Linked DNA regions of Homo sapiens: region 2 is linked to region 1. Evidence: promoter capture Hi-C in human tissues and cell types (Jung and others, 2019). All regions are on one chromosome and are shown on one strand. The core of a region is centred on a gene start or on the middle of the fragment in contact, and the rest is flanking DNA. Distances in the headings are between cores, read along the strand shown. Region 1 holds the start of IL17C (interleukin 17C). Region 2 has its middle 13 kb from the start of ZC3H18-DT.

Region 1 (6,936 bases), core at 1,741-4,240:
TCTCGGCCTGTTCCCAGTGCCAGGTGCTTAGTAGAAACTCATATGGCTGGGTGCGGTGGCTCACGCCTGTAATCCCAGCACTCTGGGAGGCCGAGGTGGGAGGATCACTTGAGCTCAGGAGTTCGAGACCAACCTGGCCAACATGGCGAAACCCCGCCTCCACTAAAAATACAAATATGAGTTGGGTGTGGTGGTGCACGCCTGTACTGGGAAGCTGAGCTGGGAGGATCGCTTGAACTCAGAAGGTGGGGGTGGCAGTGAGCTGAAGTCATACCACACTGCACTCCAGCCTGGGCAACAGAGCGAGACCCTTTTTCAAGAAAGAAAAGAAACTCAATAAATGTGTTGAATGAAAATTCCATCTCCTGGACAAGGGCCACCACCTCCAGGAAGTCTTCCCTGAGGCCTCTTGCTTTGGGAGTCTGAGTGGAGTCCTTGTTCTTCTGTGCAGCACCCCCACCCCCATCTCCAGGCACCTGGACGCAGTAGGTGGGTGAGCCAGGGGGCCAGGCAGGGGAGGGGCTAACAACTGCCCAGCAGCCCCATGGCAATGTCAGCCCTTGGGGCCGGGGGCCTAGAGACTGAGACCCTGAGACTGTCACAGGCCTGGGCCCCCTTTCCACGACTGGGGCTGCTCCCCCCGGGGCCCCTTAACTAAAATCTCCAACAGAGCCTGGGTCCCGAAGCGTGGCTAGTTCACCATCAGGGAGGGCGCTTGGCCTTGGATGTTGATCCGAACCACGAAGGCTGGGGGCCCTGCCTTGAGCCGACAGCCCTGCAGTTCATCCTCAGAGACTTGCCTTGGGGGCCGAGAGGGTGCCCCTAGGCGCTCACATCATTACAAAGCATAGGGCTCAAGGCACTGCTTGAGGAAGGAGGCTGGTTCCTGTTCCCAGGGGTGTCCTCAGGGGAGACACTGTGTGGGCAGAGCAGGGACACCTGTGACCCCCCCGTGCTACAGCTCAGTCCCACCTGCATGCACTGCTCGCGGCTGCGTAGACCTTTCTGGAAGGACACCCCAGAATTGGGTCCATGGCTGGCCTGGACCAGGGCTGAACGGGAGAATGTCGCATTGAATGTTGGCCTCTGGGGATGTGTTCATCAGTTTAATAATACACGTACACTTAAATAATTGTTTAAGAAACAGGGGTACTTCCAAGGAGGTTGGGAAGAGGCAGCCTGCGGGGGCCTGAGGCCAGTGATAGGGTAAGGGAAGCCGGGAGCAGGACAGGGAGCCAAGGTACAGGCAGCCGTGTGACACCTTTTCTGCAGCTTTAAGGGCTGGAAGAGGTGCTGAGCTCCTTCTACCCCCAACTACTGAGGCTGGAGATGAGGAGAACAGTGGGGGGCTGTCCTCCAGACACGGGGAATGCCCAGACCCCAAGGGTAGTGTTGGGGGAGGCATATAAATAACAATAAATACACATAAATAGGGGGTGCCCTCTGGGGAGCACACGTGTCCAGTCTAGGGGCCCCACGGCCTCGGCGGTCACACTGAACGGGGCAGCACGCAGGTGCAGCCGACGGGGACGTGGATGAACTCGGTGTGGAAGGCAAAGGCCCCAGGTGTGGGGAGCCCCGAGCCGTCGCGGGAGCAGGGCCGGCGGCGCAGCACCAGCAGGCTCTGGAGCAGCCGCACGGAGTTGAGCGCAGCTGTCTCGCGGCCCGTCCGTGCATCGATACAGCCTCTGCACAGGCACTCGGCGAAGGCCAGCTTCTGTGGATAGCGGTCCTCATCCGTGTCCACACTGCGGGACGGGGTGCACAGTGAGTCTCTGGCCCTACCCTGTCCTCCTGGAGGCCCCTCTCCCCTCAGGGCCCCTCTCCGTGTACTCAGGATAGGACCTGAGGCAGCGAGGGCTGAGCCACACGGGCTTGGGGTGCAGTCGGGCTCACATGTGGTGGTAATCCACGTCTCCCCAGGGCCCTCCAAGAGCACAGAGCAGGGTCCGGAGGCCTCTAGGAGCCTCCCTTCCACTTCATCACCCAGCCCCACTTCTGCAGGAGCTCAGGTGACGGGCCCAGAATTTCCCCAGGGGACCCTGGCCACCTAGGACAGTGGGAGGCAGGGCACGGCCAGCCGCAAGCAGCAGCTCAGCCGTCCAGGTCAGGAGGGCCGGAGGGAGGGAGCTCAGGTGGCCACGCCCACTTGACAGGTGAGAACCACCAAGGCCCAGAGAGCTCTCCGGGCAGTCAGGGCCCCGCCAGGGGAGGGGCAGCCCCACGCCACAGCGGAATCCCCAGGTCCTCACCGGTATCTCCAGGGTGAGATGGAGCGCTGGTGGGTGTCTGCCTCCAACACCTCCTCCGGCCGCAGCACCGGGCACTGGGTCGTAGCTGAGGGCCTCTCGTGCCTCCCCCTGTGGCTTGCTGCCTCCAGGCTGGACACCAGGGCTACAGGCAAAGCCTGCCCCCACTTGGCACCTCGAGCCAGCAGGTGTGGGGGGGCCTGGCCGAGGGGCAGTTCCTCAGCCGAGTAGCAGTGTGGGGTACCGTGACTGTGGGGGTGCCCCCTGAGGGAGGGGTCATGGTGGGCCAGGCATGTGTGCAGCCAGGTCAGAAACAGGAGGCCGGGGAGGAGCTGGTGAAACAGGCAGGTGGGTGGTTAGGAGGTGCCCAGGGCAGGGGGCACCTCACTTCCACCTCAGCTTTCCTTGTTCCCAGCGGAAAGATGGAGTACAGCCCTCCCTCTATAGATGGGGAAACTGAAGCCCAGAGAGGCTAGCCCTTCAGCCCAAGACACCCAGCATGCCAGCGCTCCGAGGATCTGCAGCTGCCTCCCCTACCCCCAGACTGAGGGGTTTCCCAGACCCCATCCCAACACCCTCCTCCCAGGCTCAGAGAACCCCAGCCCTTCCATGCCAGGCTGCACATCCAAGCAGCATCCATCCGAGCGGCATGTGGAGAGGCTCACCGTCATGGTGGCGGCAGCGGGGCAGGCTGGGCTTGGAGCGGCCTGCACACCTGGCGGCAATCCCACAGGTGCACCTGGCCATGCACCTGGCAGCAGCCGCTCTTATACCTGAGGCCACACCTGGGGGAAATTCCGGCACCACTTCCTCCTCGGGAAGTGCCCAGCTGGGGCGCTTCTTCCTTCTCTGGTCCCCGCAGCCCCCGCCTGCTGTGCATCAGGACACAGACATGCAAGGAGGCCCCGGGAGGCGCTGTCCTGTTACCCCCCTCCCCCGAGAGAGACTCCGCCCAACCTGAGCACCTACACAGGGTGCTGCCTTGTCTGACATTCTCAAACTTTTTTTTTTTTTTTGAGACAGGGTCTTGCTGTCACCCGAGCTGGAGGGAAATGGTGCTGTCCCAGCTCACTGCAACCTCCACATCCCAGGTTCAAGCGATTCTCCTGCCTCAGGCTTCCGAGTAGCTGGGATTACAGGCACCCCCCACCATGCCTGGCTAATTTTTGTATTTTTAGTACAGACAGGGTTTTGCCATATCGGCCAGGCTGGTCTGAGGCTCCTGACCTCAAGTGATCTGCTCGCCTTGGCCTCCCAAAGTGCTGGGATTACAGGAGTGAGCCACTGCGCCCAGCCTTGAACCTCCTATAAGAGGGTTTCTGCTTGCGTATCCGTCAGCACCTTGCTGATTCAACTTGTAGGTTTTCATCTGGACCTGATGGTGGCGGGGCGCTTTTGCACCCTATACAGTTCTTCTCCGTCTGCTGCTGGTGGGTGCCAAGGGTGGTTCAGTGTTTTAGCTGAGATGGTCAAGATCAGGTGAGGCTCACGTGCCCCCTTCACCCAGGTGGGAGAGGTCCCGGAGATGGGGGAGGCAGGCACGTCTTCAGGTCTCTGTTGGGTTTCTGTGTTGTTTTTTTTTTTGTTGTTTTTTTGAGGCGGAGTCTGACTCTGTCGCCCAGGCGGGGAGTACAGTGGTGCGATCTCGGCTCACTACAAGCTCAGCTTCCTGGGTTCACGCCATTCTCCTGCCTCAGCCTGCCGGGTAGCTGGGACTACAGGCGCCCGCCACCACACCTGGCTAATTTTTTTGTATTTTTAGTAGAGACGGGGTTTCACCATGTTAGCCAGGATGGTCTCGATCTCCTGACCTCGTGATCTGCCCACCTCGGCCTCGCAAAGTGCTGGGATCACAGGCATGAGTCACTGCACCCGGCCTGGGCTTCTGTGGTTTTATTGAGAAAAAAGTTCAAGCTAAAAAGTCTGAGTTGGAGGTGTGAGGAGTGAGGTGTGAGGTGTGAATGAGGCATGAGGCGTGAGGCGTGAGGTGTGAGGTGTGACCAGCACACACAGGAAGCTTTATGTAAGCGGGGCCGGGAGCTGCCTTTGGCCTCCTTGATCGGTGAGGCTGGCTGGGGGTGGGGGCGCTGGAGGTGCCTTTGTTTCCCCGGAAAGGGACAGCTGCAGCCAGAACTTGGGAAGGTTTGAATGCCGGGGGTTTGACGTCATCCTGAGGAGGGTTGTCCTGGAGTCCCCAGGGCCCCTGGCCACATCAGAGGTGGGGGAATCTGTCCGCCCTGGTCCCCTCAGCTTCGGGGTGAGGGCGGGAGGGAGGGTGCTTGTGTGCCCCCAGCCTTTCCTCCCCTGCCGCGGTGCAGATGTGTTCCACGGAGGTGTCCTCTAAGCTGAAAACCTCAGTCTCTCTGAACACAAAAGCTCCCAAGTCGGGTGGGGCTGAGGCAGCACTGGGACCCCTGGGCCCTCCAGCACCTCCTCTTGGCCGCTGTGTGGCTCTCAGCTTGTCTGCTGTGGGCCTCTGGGGGTGAAGGAGGCTGTGCCCCAGGGTTAACAGTCTGGGAGGAATCAAAGACAGATTGCTGGAGTCCCCAGGGCTGCTCCTCCCGACAGTGCCCCTGCCCACCCACCCTCTGCTTGCATACCTCCTGTGACGGGGAGCTCACTATCCGTGCTGGTTTCCTAGGGCTGTGCTAACCATGCACCACAAACTGGGGGGTGTGAAATGGGAGAAGTTTATTCCACGAGGCCGTGGAGCTGGGCGTGTTCAGGGCTGGGTCCTCCTGGAGGCTCTTCCAGCCCTCAGTTTCCCGGGCTGGCGGCTCCTCCCGTGGCCTCTCTGCTGCACCCGCCTTTTCCTCTTCTGTGGTTTATAAGGACACTGGTTGTTGGATGTAGGGCCCAGTCTAAAAGATAATCCCTCCCCCCTTCTCAGGACGTGGGACCTGCCTTAACCCAGGATGAGCCATCTCAAGATCCTTTCCCTAATTACATCAAAGCAAAAGCCCCTTTTCCAAATGAGCGCGCGTTCACAGGTTGGGTTAGGGTGTGGGTAGAGCCTTTTCCAGGACACAGCAGAACCCACTGCATCCCCAGCAGGACAGGTGCTCCTGTGTGGGTTGGCCCTGCCTTAGGCTGGGCTGATACAGGCCTCTCTGCACGGGCGCTTGGCTGTCTCAGAAAAATTCCAGCCCCTCACGGCCCTCCCCAAAAGGCGGCCTGAGCGCCTTGAGGGCCACGTCTGTGGCAGCCCCATCTGTGTACCCAGGGTTGAGAGTAGTGCAGGGCATACAGGAGGGTGCTCTGTAAATAACACAGAATGGAAAAAGGAGGGAGGAGAGCGGCTCTCCCCATGGGTACAGTGGGATGATAGCAGCTCCAGTGCCAGGGCTGCCCTGAGGCGCATTAGCATCACCTGCCTGGCTCAGGTGGTCGCAGGCCGCAGCACCTGCCGCCAGGAGGCTGACAAGCACTCTTACTGTTGGGAGACAGGGCGGCGGCAGTGGGGCAGGGGTGTTTGTCTTTTCTCCAGAGTCCACTCAGCCATTCTTCTGGGGACAAAAACTCAAGACCCCCCGCAATCTCTGCATGCCAAGCACAGCCTGGGGGTAGGGGGCTGGGCCCCTCCCTGGCTCCGGAGTCTCTGGGGGCCTCCCCTGGGTTGAGACCTACGAAGCAGCCCCGGGGTCCCTTCTGCCACAGAGAGGGGCCCAGGGGAGCCTCATTGGAAACGTCCCGAGGGGCCTGCAGCTGGGTGCTCAAGATGTTTTGTGGAAACCCTGACGAGTCACCGGGCTCAGCATGGCCGGGCCTGGCCTCCCCAGTGCTCTGCCCAACCTGCCCAGCTGCGGCTTGGGGCTAGGGCTGCAGGCCAGGCCGGGTGGGGAATCTTGAGGAGGGGAGGAGGGTGCCTTCGTGCAGGGTTAGGGAACGCACAGTGTTGGGAGGGAAAGACAAATTGATGTCAGTCCTCGTCCTCTGCTGGGAGTCCTTGTGCAGTGCACGACCTGCTCAACCATACCCAAGAAAGAGAGGAAGGGGGAGGGAATAGGAGCCAGAGGGAATGGAGGAAAACGCCAGGAAAAGACGGGGAGAGCGAGAAGCCCCCCACCTCGGCCTAGTGCCCTCGTCCCCCATCCCCCGGTGGAGCCAGTGACCCTCCCTCCTGGCATGGGGAACAGGTCTGTCCACACGTGGGTCACACACGCCGTTCCCTCGGGCAGGACCTGGTCGGCCTGATGAGGGCAGCCAGTGCCTGAGGAGGTAAATGGCCGAGTGGAAAAGTTCGGCAGGAGGGAGTGAGCAGAAGAAGCCGGAGCCCTCGGGCACAGGAGTGTCCTCCCCGGCCTCCCTCCCTCGGCTGGGCGCCCCCGCATCCTGCGCCCCGCCCAGGGGAGGATGGAAGAAGGCAGCCCCACCGCGGACTCCGCTCCGCCCCCGCCTCCTTCCTCCTCCGACCCGGGGCTGCCTTCTCCCCAGCGGCCGCCGCCCCATCTCCCGCTTTGCTCTGGTTCTGAGGTGGGACGGCCGGACTCCCAGGCACAGGCTGCACCGCGAGAACGGCGCCAGGGACCCGGCCAGCGCCGCGCGTCTCCCCACCTTCCGCGTGTTCTCAGCGCTGTCCCGGGGGTCGCAGGGCCAGGAAGACACGCCCGGGGGGACCTGCGGGACCTGCGGACTGGGCGGGGCCCGGGGTCCTGTGGGCGCAGAGGACGGGAGGACGAAGGGCGGC
Region 2 (6,936 bases), core at 2,186-4,685, 90 kb after region 1:
GAGGAGCTCAGCCAGGAGCGGAAGGAGCTGGGCTTGAGCCCGGGGTTCAGTTCTACCAAACCCAGTCCAGAGCTGGCACCTGTCGGCAGCCAATGAGCACATTAAAAAATGTGATGAGGCTGGGCAATGGCTCACACCTGTAAACACAGCACTTTGGGAGGCTGAGGTGGGAGTATTGCCTGAAGCCAGTCCAAGACCAGCCTGGGCACACAGTGAGGCCCCCATCTCTGCAAAAAATATAAATAAAAAAAATCAGGCCTGGTGTGGTGGCTCATGCCTATAATCCCAGCAATTTGGGAGGCTAAGGCAGGTGGATTGCTTGAGGTTAGAAGTCCAAGACCAGCCTGACCAACATAGTGAAAACACATCTCTACTAAAACAAAAACAAAAACAAAAATTACCCACGTATGGTGGTGCACGCCTGTAATCCCAGCTACTCAGGAGGCTGAGGCAGGAGAATCGCTTGAACCCAGGAGGCGGAAGTTGCAGTTAGCCGAGATTGCACCACTGCACTCCAGCCTGGGCGACAGAGCAATTAGCCGGGTGTGGTGGTGCACACCTGTAGTCCCAAGTACTCGGGAGGCTGAGGCGGGAGGATGACTTGGGCCCAGGAATTTGAGGTGGTAGTGAGCTGAGATCACACCACTGCACTCCACCCTCACTCCAGGGTGACAGGGTGAGGCCCTGTCTCAAAAAGTAAATAAATAAGTAAATGAAAAATAAAAATGTGACAAGACCAGGTGCTCATTGATGAGTGAATGGAAAAACGAAATGGGGTCCATCTGTGCCTGGAAAATTCTTCAGCCATAAAAAGGAGTGGAACGCTGACACAGGCTACATTGGGACGAACCTTGAGACCCTTCTGCAGAGTGAAAGATGCCGGTCACGAGAGGCTACATGCGTGTGCCTCTGTGTCTCCAGAATGCACACAACAGGCAAAGCCACAGCAGGGGTAAGGACTGGGGGTGTCTGGGCTGGGGAGGGGGAGAGGCAGGCGGCTGCTAATGGGGTGGGTTTTTTTTTGTTGTTGTTTTTTGTTTTTTGAGACGGAGTCTCGCTCTGTTGCCTAAGCTGGAGTGCAGTGGCGTGATCTCAGCTCACGGCAACCTCCACCTCCTGGGTCCAAGCAATTCTCCTGCCTCAGCCTCCCAAGTAGCTGGGATTATAGGCCCACACCACCACACCCAGCTAATTTTTGTATTTTTAGTAGAGACGGGGTTTCACCCTGTTGGCCAGGCTGGTCTTGAACTCCTGACCTCAGGTGATCCACCTGCCTCGGCCTCCCAAAGTGCTGGGGTTACAGGCCTGAGCCACCTCGCCTGGCCTGAATTCGCATTTTAAAAGAGTCTTGGCCAGGCACGGTGGCTCACGCCTGTAATCCCATCTACTTGGGAGGCTGAGGCATGAGAATTACTTGAACCTGGGAGGTGGAGATTGCAATGAGCCCAGATCACACCACTGCACTCCAACCTGGGCAACAGAGACTCTTAAATAAATACATAAAGTCTCATTTGCATAATTTCATGTAATGATGAGCAGAGCCCTCTGAAGGTCATTATCCGGGCAGCCTCTCATCTGAGCTGGGCTCGGAGCCTGGACTGTCCTCTCCCGGGAGCCCCTTAGGCTCCGTGTTTTCATGGGCCAAGGTTGCTGTCAGACTGCCTGAGTCCCCAGGGCTCTGAGTCCGGCAGATGGTGTCCACGCCCATTTCCTCTTCTTTCCGCCAGCCTCACTGTAGCCTGGCCTTGCTACCTGGCCACTTCCTCCGGGCCATGCCGCTCCGGAAAGGAGCCCAAGGGCAGCCTTCTGTGTGGGGGCCACTGCGCCATCCGTGGGCCATGTGGGCTGCTCCAGAGGGCAAGGTCCCCGGCCTCCCTGGGTCAATCAGAGCTGGCTGTGCTTTGTCTGTTTGGTGGTAGAGCTGCGCCGTGCTGGGGACGGGGGTGCACACAGGAGGAGGCTCCTTCGGTTGGAGCAGAGTTGGGGTTGGGGTGGGGGCCACCCTCTCCCCTGGCCTGGCGTGGAAGGAGAGAACAGGCATGATGTGTGTCTTCTGGAAGATGGCAATGGGCACGGAGCAGAAGAAGACCAAAGGCCCGCCTGCAGCTCCCGTGTTTTGGTAGGGGCATTGCGCGTGTTCAGGAAGTGTGAGGTTCCTGTCTTCTCTGACAGCAAGGGCTCGGATCAGGAGCCAGGGGTAGGAGCGCAGACCTCAGGGGGAGATAACCAACCTTCACTCCCTCTGTGTTCTCTGGGCCTGTTCCCAGGTCAGAGGGCTGTGCTGGGGAGGTACCACACAGTTGGACTCAGCTACAGCTAAGTTTTGATTGAAGGCTCCTCCCAGGCACTCACCCTCTTAACCCTCTCAAGTGAGCCCCCGCTGGGTGCCTGAGCTGCAGGAACCTGCAAAACACCTTTGTCCCTCCCAGGCTTCAGACTGACTTCAGAGTTTCTTTTCTTTTTTTCTTTTTTTTTTGAGATGGAGTTTCGCTCTGTCCCCAGGCTGGAGTGCAGTGGCGTGATCTCGGTTCACTGCAACCTCTGCCTCCCAGGTTTAAGTGATTCTTCTGCCTCAGCTTCCCGTGTAGCTGGTATTATGGGTGCGCATCACCACACCCGGCTAATTTTTGTATTTTTAGTAGAGACAGGGCTTCACCATGTTGGCCAGCATGGTCTTGATCTCTTGACCTTGTGATCCACCTGCCTCGGCCTCCCAAAGTGTTGGGATTACAGGCATGAACCACCATGCCCGGCCTCTTGTTGCTATTTAGAGGAGAACAAATGACTTACAATCTAACGCAGATCAGAAGTGACTGCCAGTGTTTCTGACTGAGACTTAGATAACGAGTCACTCTGATGTTTGCACAGCAGTTTGAAGCAACACGATGTCTCCTTTTGTGAAATTAACTCTGAAATGGCCCCACGTTTAAAGAAGTGACTTTATTCTGCTTTGATATTTCAGCTCATTTTGAAACCCAAGCTTGGTCTCCTCTCTTTGCCGTGTGAATTGTCTATGGATTCCGGCTGAAAGCGGCGGACCCTGGCTGGTGGGTGCAGGTGCAGTACAGTTAGAGCTGGAGGCAGTCCTGCCTCGTGCAGCCACTGCCGGCGCTCGGGATGTAACCACTTGGACCCTCTGTTTCGTCTTCAGTAAAACAAAGCCAGCACCAAAAGGGTTAAGATTGGAACAGACTTTCCTCAACTCTGATCCATGGACCTGTGCGTTGGTGCCAATGTCTTCATCGATGTACAGTGAAACGAGGAAAAGGAGCGCCAAGTGGAATAAATCATTCATGTGGGCCGGGCGCGGTGGCTCACGCCTGTAATCCCAGCACTTCGGGAGGCCAAGGCAGGTGGATCGCTTGAGCCCAGGAGTTTGAGAGCAGCTTGGGCAACATAGGGAGAACTCGTCTCTATTAAAAAAAATAATACTTTCGTGTAAAAGGCTTTTTGTGCAGAGATTGTGCTATCCTACTGTATTTGGTGCTAAAAGGTGCTTTTATGAGATATTGAGACTATTGAGCAATAGTTAAAAAAATTAATGTCAGTATCTGGAAAAAACATAAGGTTAGAGTCCTATGCTAACCCGGAAGTGATTGTCGACAGTTTTCTGGTTTGTGATTTTTCCAAAGTCTGGGGACCCCTGTTCGGGGTGGCGCTGCCTCACTGGTGCCTTCAGGTGAACCCTGGCTGGGGGAAGAGTCCCCGGGAGGGAGCTGGGCCCAGCTATTCAGCCCAGCCAGAGCAGAGAAGGCAGTCGGTCAACATGCAGGCCCTGCCCCGGGCTTTGGTGCCAGATAAAGGGATGTCCCAGGAGTTCCTCTGAGACCCTGGAGCCTGTGGCTGGTGCGTGTGGGAGGAAGGGAGGTGTGAGCCAGGCGCCCAGACCACAGGGCTGGTGGGTGGGGCAGGAAGAGGGCCAGTGCCCCACATGAACCTGCCAGGGCTGTGGGCCTGGAAGCCCCTTCCCCCGGGAGGGTGACAGGGTCATTGACGGTGACCACCTGGCTGGTGCTGACGTGGAGGGTGGGGATTGGAGCCACTGGGGTGGGACCCTCTGGCCATCCACTGGGAACCCCACCTTACAGGGGAAAGGGCAGTGGCGGTCAGGCTGCTGTCAATCCCTACTGTAGTGTGTGGGTGGGGGCTCCGTGCCCTGGAGACCCCCGATCATCTTTCTGGCCACAGGATGTCCTGCCTGTTCTATGCCTCCTGGGTGTGGGGGGAACCAAGGGTCCAGGAGGGGAACTGTGCAGTCTCATGGATCAAAAGGGCCAAGGTGGGGTGAGGCCAGGGTGTCTGCAGCCCAAGCACATACCCATGAGTTTCACACTTGGATGGTTGTCACCCTCTGTTCCCTCACCTTCCCCACCCTCTGTCCCCTCACCTTCCCCACCCTCTGTCCCGTCGCCTTCCCCACCCTCTGTCCCGTCGCCTTCCCCACCCTCTGTCCCCTCGCCTTCCCCACCCTCTGTCCCCTCGCCTTCCCCACCCTCTGTCCCCTCGCCTTCCCCACCCTCTGTCCCCTCGCCTTCCCCACCCTCTGTCCCCTCGCCTTCCCCACCCTCTGTCCCCTCGCCTTCCCCACCCTCTGTCCCCTCGCCTTCCCCACCCTCTGTCCGGTCACCTTCCCCACCCTCTGTCCCCTCGCCTTCCCCACCCTCTGTCCCGTCACCTTCCCCACCCTCTGTCCAGTCACCTTCCCCACCCTCTGTCCCCGCACCTTCCCCACCCTCTGTCTCCTCACCTTCCCCACCCTCTGTCCCCGCACCTTCCCCACCCTCTGTCCCCGCACCTTCCCCACCCTCTGTCCGGTCACCTTCCCCACCCTCTGTCCCCTCGCCTTCCCCACCCTCTGTCCCCTCGCCTTCCCCACCCTCTGTCCCCTCGCCTTCCCCACCCTCTCCTCGCCTTCCCCACCCTCTGTCCCCTCGCCTTCCCCACCCTCTGTCCCCTCGCCTTCCCCACCCTCTGTCCCCTCGCCTTCCCCACCCTCTGTCCCCTCGCCTTCCCCACCCTCTGTCCCCTCGCCTTCCCCACCCTCTGTCCCCTCGCCTTCCCCACCCTCTGTCCCCTCGCCTTCCCCACCCTCTGTCCCCTCGCCTTCCCCACCCTCTGTCCCCTCGCCTTCCCCACCCTCTGTCCCCTCACCTTCTCCACCCTCTGTCCCCTCACCTTCTCCACCCTCTGTCCCCTCACCTTCCCCACCCTCTGTCCCCTCACCTTCTCCACCCTCTGTCCCCTCACCTTCCCCACCCTCTGTCCCCTCACCTTCTCCACCCTCTGTCCCCTCACCTTCTCCACCCTCTGTCCCCTCACCTTCCCCACCCTCTGTCCCCTCGCCTTCTCCACCCTCTCTTCCCTCACCTTGTCCACCCTCTGTTTTCTCACCTTAGAAATGAGCAGAAAGGTGCAGAGATGGGCGATGGGTCTGGACAGATGTTTCTCCATAGACATACAGTGGCCAGTGAGCAGGGGGATGCTGCGTGGCACTGCCGGTCACTGGAGAATGCAGATTACAGCCCCAGTGAGACTCCGCTTCTCATGCATTCAGATGCTGAAGTCAGACAGTGCTGCAGCATGTGTTGGTGGGATGTGGAGGCCTGGCATGCACTGCTGATGGGAACAGCAATCGGTGTGACTGTTGTGGAAAGTAGGGTGACAGCCACTCAAAAGCTCAACCTCGGGCCTGGGTGCGGTGGCTTATGCCTGTAATCCCAGCACTTTGAGAGGCTGAGGAAGGAAGATTGCTTAAGTAAGGAGGTGGATACCAGACTGGGCAACATAGTGAGATGCCATCTCTACAAAAAGTAAAAAAAAATAGCTGGGAATGGTGCTGCACGCCTGTGGTCCTCAGCACCTAGGAGGCTGAGGTGGGAGGACCCCTTGAGCTCAGGAGGTTGAGGCTGCAGTGCACCGTGATGGCGCCATTGTTCGCCCTCTGCCTTTGATTGGAGAGTGATGATTTCCTCGTGCTGGCTGGAGACTGGAGCATCCCATGTGCATGCTTCCTGAACTTCTATCTGACTTTACTTGTATTATTATTATTGCAAAGGTAGAAACAAAAAGAGACGCAAGATGGTCGGGCACAGGACCCCTGTCCCCAGCTCATGAGGTGCCACCGGGATCTTTTTGCAGCCCTGGCCGGCCCTCTGTGCCCTGTGTCCCACCCTACTCCAAGTCCCAGCTATCCTGAGTCAGGTGCAGCAGCCTTCAGGAGCCAGTGGGGCTCACTGAAGCGGGTCTCACTGGCTGAGGTCCAGGCGTGAGCAGGGCTGGCCCCAGCTGGGAGCTCCTGAGGAGAACCAGCTGCTTATTCTGGAAGCCTCCCCGTTCCTTGGCTCATGGCACCCCCCCCATCTTCAAAGCCCATTGAGTCCTCCCATCCCACCTCTCTGGTATTCTTCCTGACCCCTCTTCCACTGATAAGAACTTTGTGATTATGCTGTGCCCACCAGGATGATCCAGGGTAATCTCTGTATCTTGGGTCAGCTGATGAGCAACCTCAACTTCCCCTGCAGCCTTAACTCCCCTCTGCTGCATGAGGCTGCGCCTTCACAGGCTCCCCCTGGGGATGAAAACACAGGCATCTTTGGGGCCATTCTTCTGCCAGCCGCCCCTCTCCCGGCATCGTTGTCTATGTCTGCTGCCTGTATTTGAATCCAGTGTACGTGCACACCTGAGTGGCCCTGCATCTCCCGGCAGCGTCCATGGTAAGATTCCCTGTGCTGACTCACAGAGCCAGACGTGGTGGCCCAGGCCCATAATCCCAGCTACTCAGGAGGCTGAGGCTGGAGAATCGCTTGAACCTGGGAGGCGGAGGTTGCAGTGAGCCAAGATGGAGCCACTGCACTCCAGCCTGGGCGACAGAGCAAGACTCCGTCTCAAAAAAAAACCCAAAAACAAAAAAAAACAAAAAAACTAGTAGTTAGACTG

The links. The method cuts DNA at HindIII sites, captures the fragments that hold promoters and counts their contacts. A contact is called where the count stands out against the background at its distance.
Region 2: a contact is called between a fragment that was not itself captured here and the fragment with the promoter of IL17C in region 1, in 2 of the 25 tissues and cell types used here (mesendoderm cells and thymus).

What each region holds. Positions count from the first base shown.
Region 1 is chr16:88,634,626-88,641,561 of GRCh38, reverse strand. IL17C (interleukin 17C) reads right to left here and starts at 2,990. Exons shown (of 3, transcript NM_013278.4): 1 at 2,915-2,990; 2 at 2,253-2,581; 3 at 1,094-1,748. The coding sequence starts at 2,920. The coding sequence ends at 1,490. It overlaps LOC124903755 (a long non-coding RNA gene), which reads right to left and starts at 6,554. Exons shown (of 2, transcript XR_007065181.1): 1 at 4,850-6,554; 2 at 4,128-4,762. RefSeq lists enhancers at 118-945, 5,859-6,788 and silencers at 6,490-6,649, 6,870-6,936. The HindIII fragment of the contact is 16,303 bases long and covers 1-6,936 here.
Region 2 is chr16:88,545,298-88,552,233 of GRCh38, reverse strand. No RefSeq gene overlaps it. Among named protein-coding and RNA genes, the nearest start is that of ZC3H18-DT, 13 kb to the left of the region's middle. The HindIII fragment of the contact is 5,396 bases long and covers 738-6,133 here.